Regions from separate parts of the Homo sapiens genome. Here region 1 is linked to region 2. Evidence: promoter capture Hi-C in 16 types of primary human blood cells and fetal thymus (Javierre and others, 2016). All regions are on one chromosome and are shown on one strand. Each heading gives the region's core, a stretch centred on a gene start or on the middle of the fragment in contact. The rest is flanking DNA. Distances are from core to core; before and after follow the strand shown. Region 1 overlaps NEMP1 (nuclear envelope integral membrane protein 1). Region 2 holds the start of LRP1-AS (LRP1 antisense RNA).

What was found. The method cuts DNA at HindIII sites, captures the fragments that hold promoters and counts their contacts. A CHiCAGO score of 5 or more calls a contact.
Region 1: a contact is called between a fragment that was not itself captured here and the fragment with the promoter of LRP1-AS in region 2, in 3 of 17 cell types (megakaryocytes, M0 macrophages and M2 macrophages). The highest score is 6.0, in megakaryocytes.

The regions. Positions count from the first base shown.
Region 1 is chr12:57,058,344-57,061,130 of GRCh38, forward strand. NEMP1 (nuclear envelope integral membrane protein 1) reads right to left here. Exons shown (of 9, transcript NM_001130963.2): 8 at 2,429-2,602; 9 at 1-1,716. The coding sequence ends at 1,536. Among named protein-coding and RNA genes, the nearest start is that of MYO1A, 9.6 kb to the left of the region's middle. The HindIII fragment of the contact is 1,220 bases long and covers 870-2,089 here.
Region 2 is chr12:57,146,182-57,148,881 of GRCh38, forward strand. It overlaps LRP1-AS (LRP1 antisense RNA), which reads right to left and starts at 1,438. Exons shown (of 2, transcript NR_131938.2): 1 at 1,258-1,438. All of the region lies in intron 6 of LRP1 (LDL receptor related protein 1), which reads left to right. RefSeq lists an enhancer at 52-980. The HindIII fragment of the contact is 5,560 bases long and covers 1-1,972 here.

The DNA.
Region 1 (2,787 bases), core at 230-2,729, 88 kb before region 2:
CATCTGCCTTTTTCCATCATCTTGGTGAGCCAGTAAGTCTGGTGCTGTGCGCTTGCCATGACCATCTATCTTCCTGGCTAAGGTAATTACAGACTTTTCCAGGGTATAAGGGTGAAGACCACAAAGAAAAAGAACCAAGTAAATGACAGACACTTGAGAATTTGCTTCCTCACAGATGACATTGCTGGTTTATAAGGGGTACTTTGCAATGGCAAAAGAATCTGAAACTAATGCTACTGCAATAACAGGCAGCATACATCTCAGGTCAGAAACGCAATCATAAATAAGTGTAAGTTCATGGAAACTTGACAGCTGAATGAGCACCCAGAGGCATGAAGATAACCTGGAGCCTATTTCCTGGCAATGCAAATTGTGGCTGCTGCATAACTACAAATTGTGTATCAAGAAACTACATAGTTTCAAGGCTTAAAAATTACCCAGATTTGGGGGAGTATGGGTGGTGAGAAAAGGCTGAAAGGAATGGACAGAGCATGTAGACAAAGGAAGGGAAAGGAAAAGGAGACAGTTTCCTGATTTCATAGCAACTCAAAGATAACATGACCCAATGACAGGAAAATGGAGAACGTATAAAAAGCATCCAAATCCCCTAAACAAGATGACTTCTCCTAGCTAGCAGGAATAATGCTACTCTGAACATACATAGTTCACAGGTAAGGGAACTGACCCTTCCTGAAAGGGCAAAGGCAGGGTAAGGAAGAATGGGAAGAGAAGAATACAAATGTTTTTTAAGATGGAATTGAAAGTTGAATATAATAAAAAGCCCAGTACATCTCACCTGCAGAAGAGCCTACAGGCATGTTCCTAAAGGCAAATAGGACTTTCTATCATATGTATGAGAACTAAATCAAAGCTTAAAACAACAGCTCCTGGGGCTTTAATGGATAATCCATATTAATAAATATGTAGGGGCCTAGGGGGTGTGTCACTCTGGAGCACTTGCTGGTTCTGGAACATGAGTTTGTTATGTTTTTTAAAAGACATTCATTTAAAAAACAAAACAATAAAAATCTATTTTCCTCCCAAAACAGTTAAATCAATAATTATTCTAAAGTCACTGAAATAAAAGCTGGAGTGAAGGAGGCTCAGATTTGTGGATTTCTCTCTGGAAGTTGCAGCCTATAGTCTAAAAGCATTCCTGCACTTAACAACAGTTCTTACTTTGGAGAGCCAGCCAGTGACAGAAATGCCATGATTGAATCAACTTTCAAGAAGGAGCTAGAATGCCATGCTAGCTGTGGCCATCCAATTTCTCTGGAAACATAAAAGTGGGCTGTTAGCTTAACCAATGGGAAGTGAACTACCCAGCATTCACTACTTTATCCACTCTCCTTCCTCAGGGATCCCATAGAGACCTCCCATTTCCAAAGGGAGGCCTTTTTAGGCCTCTTATTTCAGTAGGAGAATTTCTACCCTATCTATCTCACTCTGTTTCAAAGGGTTGAAAGCAATTGCACAACACATGCAACATGGACCAAGGCACCAAGCCAGTCCACGTAAAGATAACTGACCACTACCTAGGTTAGAAAGTTGTTCTGTGTGATAGCAGGACACCGAGAATATGAGTCCTCCTCCTCAGAGGATGCTTCCTCATAGATTTCATCCTGGGCAATAATGCTCCCTAATCCATACTCCTGCTCATGGACAGAAACTTCATTTGGCGTGAGGTGGGAAGAGCCTTCCACAAAGTCAGCAAATCTGGAAAAGAGAAGATAATACTCGTTAGAAATATCCTTCTGTCCTTTCTGGTCTTCTTTCAAAATAAGAACAAATTAAAGCCCTCGATATGCTCGCAACTCAAATTATATTAAGTCTAGCCAACATCCTTGTCCTTACTCTGGCAGGTAAGTAGACTAAAGCATGAAGTTAAGGAGAAAAGGAAAGCTGGGATCATAGGCTAATACCCCTGCAACTCCATCCTGCTTAATAAGCACTTGCCTATCCTTTCTAATTATGAAAGTGCCAAGGTTCCTTTAGTCATCTGTAATCCTGATAAGAGAAGATTAAGGGGCATTACAGTTATTCACGTTTATGGCCCTGTAAACTTTATGCCATCATGATTCCAAATTGAAGCTTCACATACTCATTGGTACATTTGCCCCCAACTAAAAAGTGGGTAGGGGGGAACCCTACCAACTCAGACAGCAATGCAAAACTTTCAGAAGGGAAACTTAATATGGTACTGGAGTCTTCCCATCTTAATGCTACAATCAAAGCTAGAGTAGATAGTTCCCTGAGGAAACAGGTTACTGCTTAATGTGTGATTATATATCCACCCTTCTCTTGACTACTTGAAGATTAACAGGAAAACAAAGGTCACAAGTGCACGATTCTCTAGAAGTATGATCTCTGGTAGAACTCAAGGTCACAATTACCCTGATAGATGCTTGGTATATCTGGCCGAGTTTACCTTTTTGGAGACTGGATTCGAGAAACAGTCTTCCAAGCAGAGCAGTCTGGACTGTTACAAAATTCTCGGAGCTCCTCTAAAGCCTTTCGGGTTTCTACCTCTCCTTGTATCCGATATTCTTCTTCTGTCAGGAGACGAGGGGGAACAGGCTTTTCTGCTCCCTTACACACCTTTCTGTGCTCACCAAAATAACATTATGAATCATTAATCAGTAATCTATATCCATCCTTACTTCTAGCTCCCTTCAGTGGGCCAAGAATACAGCAGACAGCCTGAACATTAAGAGTCATCACTCCTAAAAATTCCATGGACATCTTTAGTTATAATGAACTCCTGATACATTAGACTATGAGTGACAA
Region 2 (2,700 bases), core at 188-2,687:
CAGCCCTGCCCATCTCAGAGGCTGTTACACCAGCAACCTTAAAAGTCAACATCTGGCAGCATCACATTTCCAAAGAAATGCACCACAGGGCTGAGAGGAAGAATCTGGCCTGTGGTTGATCTGACCCCCTAAGGGAGATTAACTTGATCTGTAACTGTTTAGTAAACCAGAATTCCCATCTCTGCCTTGGTTTCCTAATCTGCATAATGGGTTTGAGCTTGTCTGTCTAGATCAGATTAACTGGAGTGAAAGCCAGTGGTAAAGGACAGCACACTTTGAAGTTGAGGATTGTGAACCTTGGGCCTCTCTAGAAGATCTTCAAGTTTCTTTATTTGGTTCTTGTGATGAAAAGAAAGATCCCAGGAGGTTACAAGGGATTCATTCTGGGAGAGAGAAAGGCCCCTCCCCGGGATGGTGGCGAGCAGGGGTTCCTCTGAGAGCCCTCACTCTCCGTGGCCTCAGCGTAAGGTTCACATTTCTGCCTTTGGCTCCTCCAGAGCATCCCTGATAGCGTCCTTGGGCTGCTGCTGTCCACAGCTCACCTGTGATCAGACATGTGTCCTCCTTGGGGTGCTGAGCTGGGGGCTGTCAAGCCTGGTTGGCTGAGCTCTTAACGAGTGGGCGACTCAGGGAACCCCATGGCTGATGGGGTGGGATTGGTGCTAGACCCTCTTGTGCAGCTGCCCTCCCCCTGTTCCTTGTCCACTGACCTACTCAACAGGCCTGTCTGGGCAGACAGCTTGTCAGTTTCCTCCCCAGCCCTGCATCTTGCCATACAGTGGGCTTCTGGGTAGGTGGCTATGGGGTGTCCTGGAGGTAACCTTCTCAACTTCTACTCTGGCCTCATCTCCTTATCTGACTTCCTCCCCAGGAGAAGCTGGTACCCCTCCCTTGGCAAACAGATTTGCCTTGCCTCCCAGTCTGCTAAACTCACTGGGCCTCTCAGGGGCAGAGTCCAGGAGGCTAGAAGAGTCCAAGGGGAAATGCTTGTGGGGTAAATGAGTGGGTTTCTCTCATCCCAGCTTCTGTCCCTTCCTCCCTGCCCTCCCCCTGCTCCACGTCCCTGCCGCCTGAATGTCTGGCTGTCACCCTGAGGATGGTTGTTTTGCTCTCTCCCACAAACTAATTATGGGTCCCAAACTGAGGACGTCAGTGTCTCTCCCCTAGCCCCTCCCCCAGTTTCTGGGTCATCCCCCTCCCCAGGAGATGCTGACTGGCCTGCCCTGGTGTGTAGGGTGGCTGGTCCCAGGCACTCACCTGCACAGTGGCTGCTGGCCTGTAATTAGCTCCCCAAGGAGGACGAAGAAGAAAGGCTGCAGCTTTCCCCTGCTTTCACTCTGCCCTCCAGGGCAGCCCTCCCTGCAAGCCTTCCATTCTGTGCTGTGACTGTGACCTCTGTTGGACCCCTGGGGCTGAGCCTCATGCAGCAGGGGTGCACACAGAGGGAGGAGTCTGACAATTGAGGGGTGTTCGAGCCAGCGAGGCCAGCCCGCTGGTGCAGGCAGAAGGGGGAGCCTGCCCCAGAGAAAACTCTGGAAGCAGAAATAGAATAGAAAGAAGGAAGGAGGCCAGGAAATGAGCCTGGTTCACATGTGTCCTGGGCCATGTGAGTCAGACCTGTTGTGGAGTCCTGAGAGCCCCCGAGGGCCCCCCTGAGGCCCTGCAGTGTGTGAACATTCCTCTTCAATGCCCCAGGGCTGCTGACCCTCCTGCCTCAGGCCCAGTGTTATCCCCCTGGATTGGGTGGGTCATCTCTTTTCCTCCCACCTGAGATTACCTCCCCCTCCCCTCTGCCGCTGGCCCAGTGGTTTGGGGAGGTCTATGAGGCTCGAATTCCAAGACCAGAGAACTCCATGGTGAGAGCCGGAAGAGAAGGCAAGACCCTTGGCCAGTACCAAGAGCAGCCCTGGCTTTCACTACTGCTTTCTCAAAGGGGCTATGCATTGATTTGATTTTAGATGGTACCTGGACAAGCTTTTTTTTTTTTTTTTTAACTGTTATAGTTACGTTTTTATTTGATATGCATTAGGAAACTCCTGTAACTAGCACATCAAATCTGTTACTTCAGCAATTGTTTAGCATGCAGCGAAATAAGAAAAGTAAGTTAATTGAAATAACTGGTAATAAACAGTAGCGCAAGCTGTACATAAGCATGGTAGACATTTTGAAAGTGATACACAAAAGACTAAAGTTCTGAAAATTGAGGCCCAGAGGGATCAACAGGCCTGATAGTCCCTTAGTCAGGAACCAGGCCTGCGCACTCTCACCCCCACCTCTGACCAGTCTCTCAGCTCCAGAGGCCTATGGAGCCTGTAACCCAGCTTTGTCCAGCCTCCTGCCAGGCTGCCCCTGGGCAGGCCTGGTGGTGCAGTCTACCGACCCCAGCCCAGCCCTGCATTTCCTAAGCTGAGCTCCTCTGATCTGTATTCCCTTCACCTTGGAGGATGCCACCACTGTAGAAAGAATGAGGCAGACTGCAAGATTGGGGTCCTGGGAACATGGGTGTGTATGGTGAGGGGAGGTTCTGAGGTTGTAAATAGAGGCCTTGAAGGAAATCGGGTTTGCTGAAGTCACTCAGGAGTTTGGACTGTGTGTGAAAGGATGGTCTGAAGGGGCTCTCAGAGGTCTCAGGGTTCCCCTCCCTGCACCATGCTGCATGGGGAAGAAGGAGGTGGCTGGGGAGCTCAGCAAAGGGCCCCT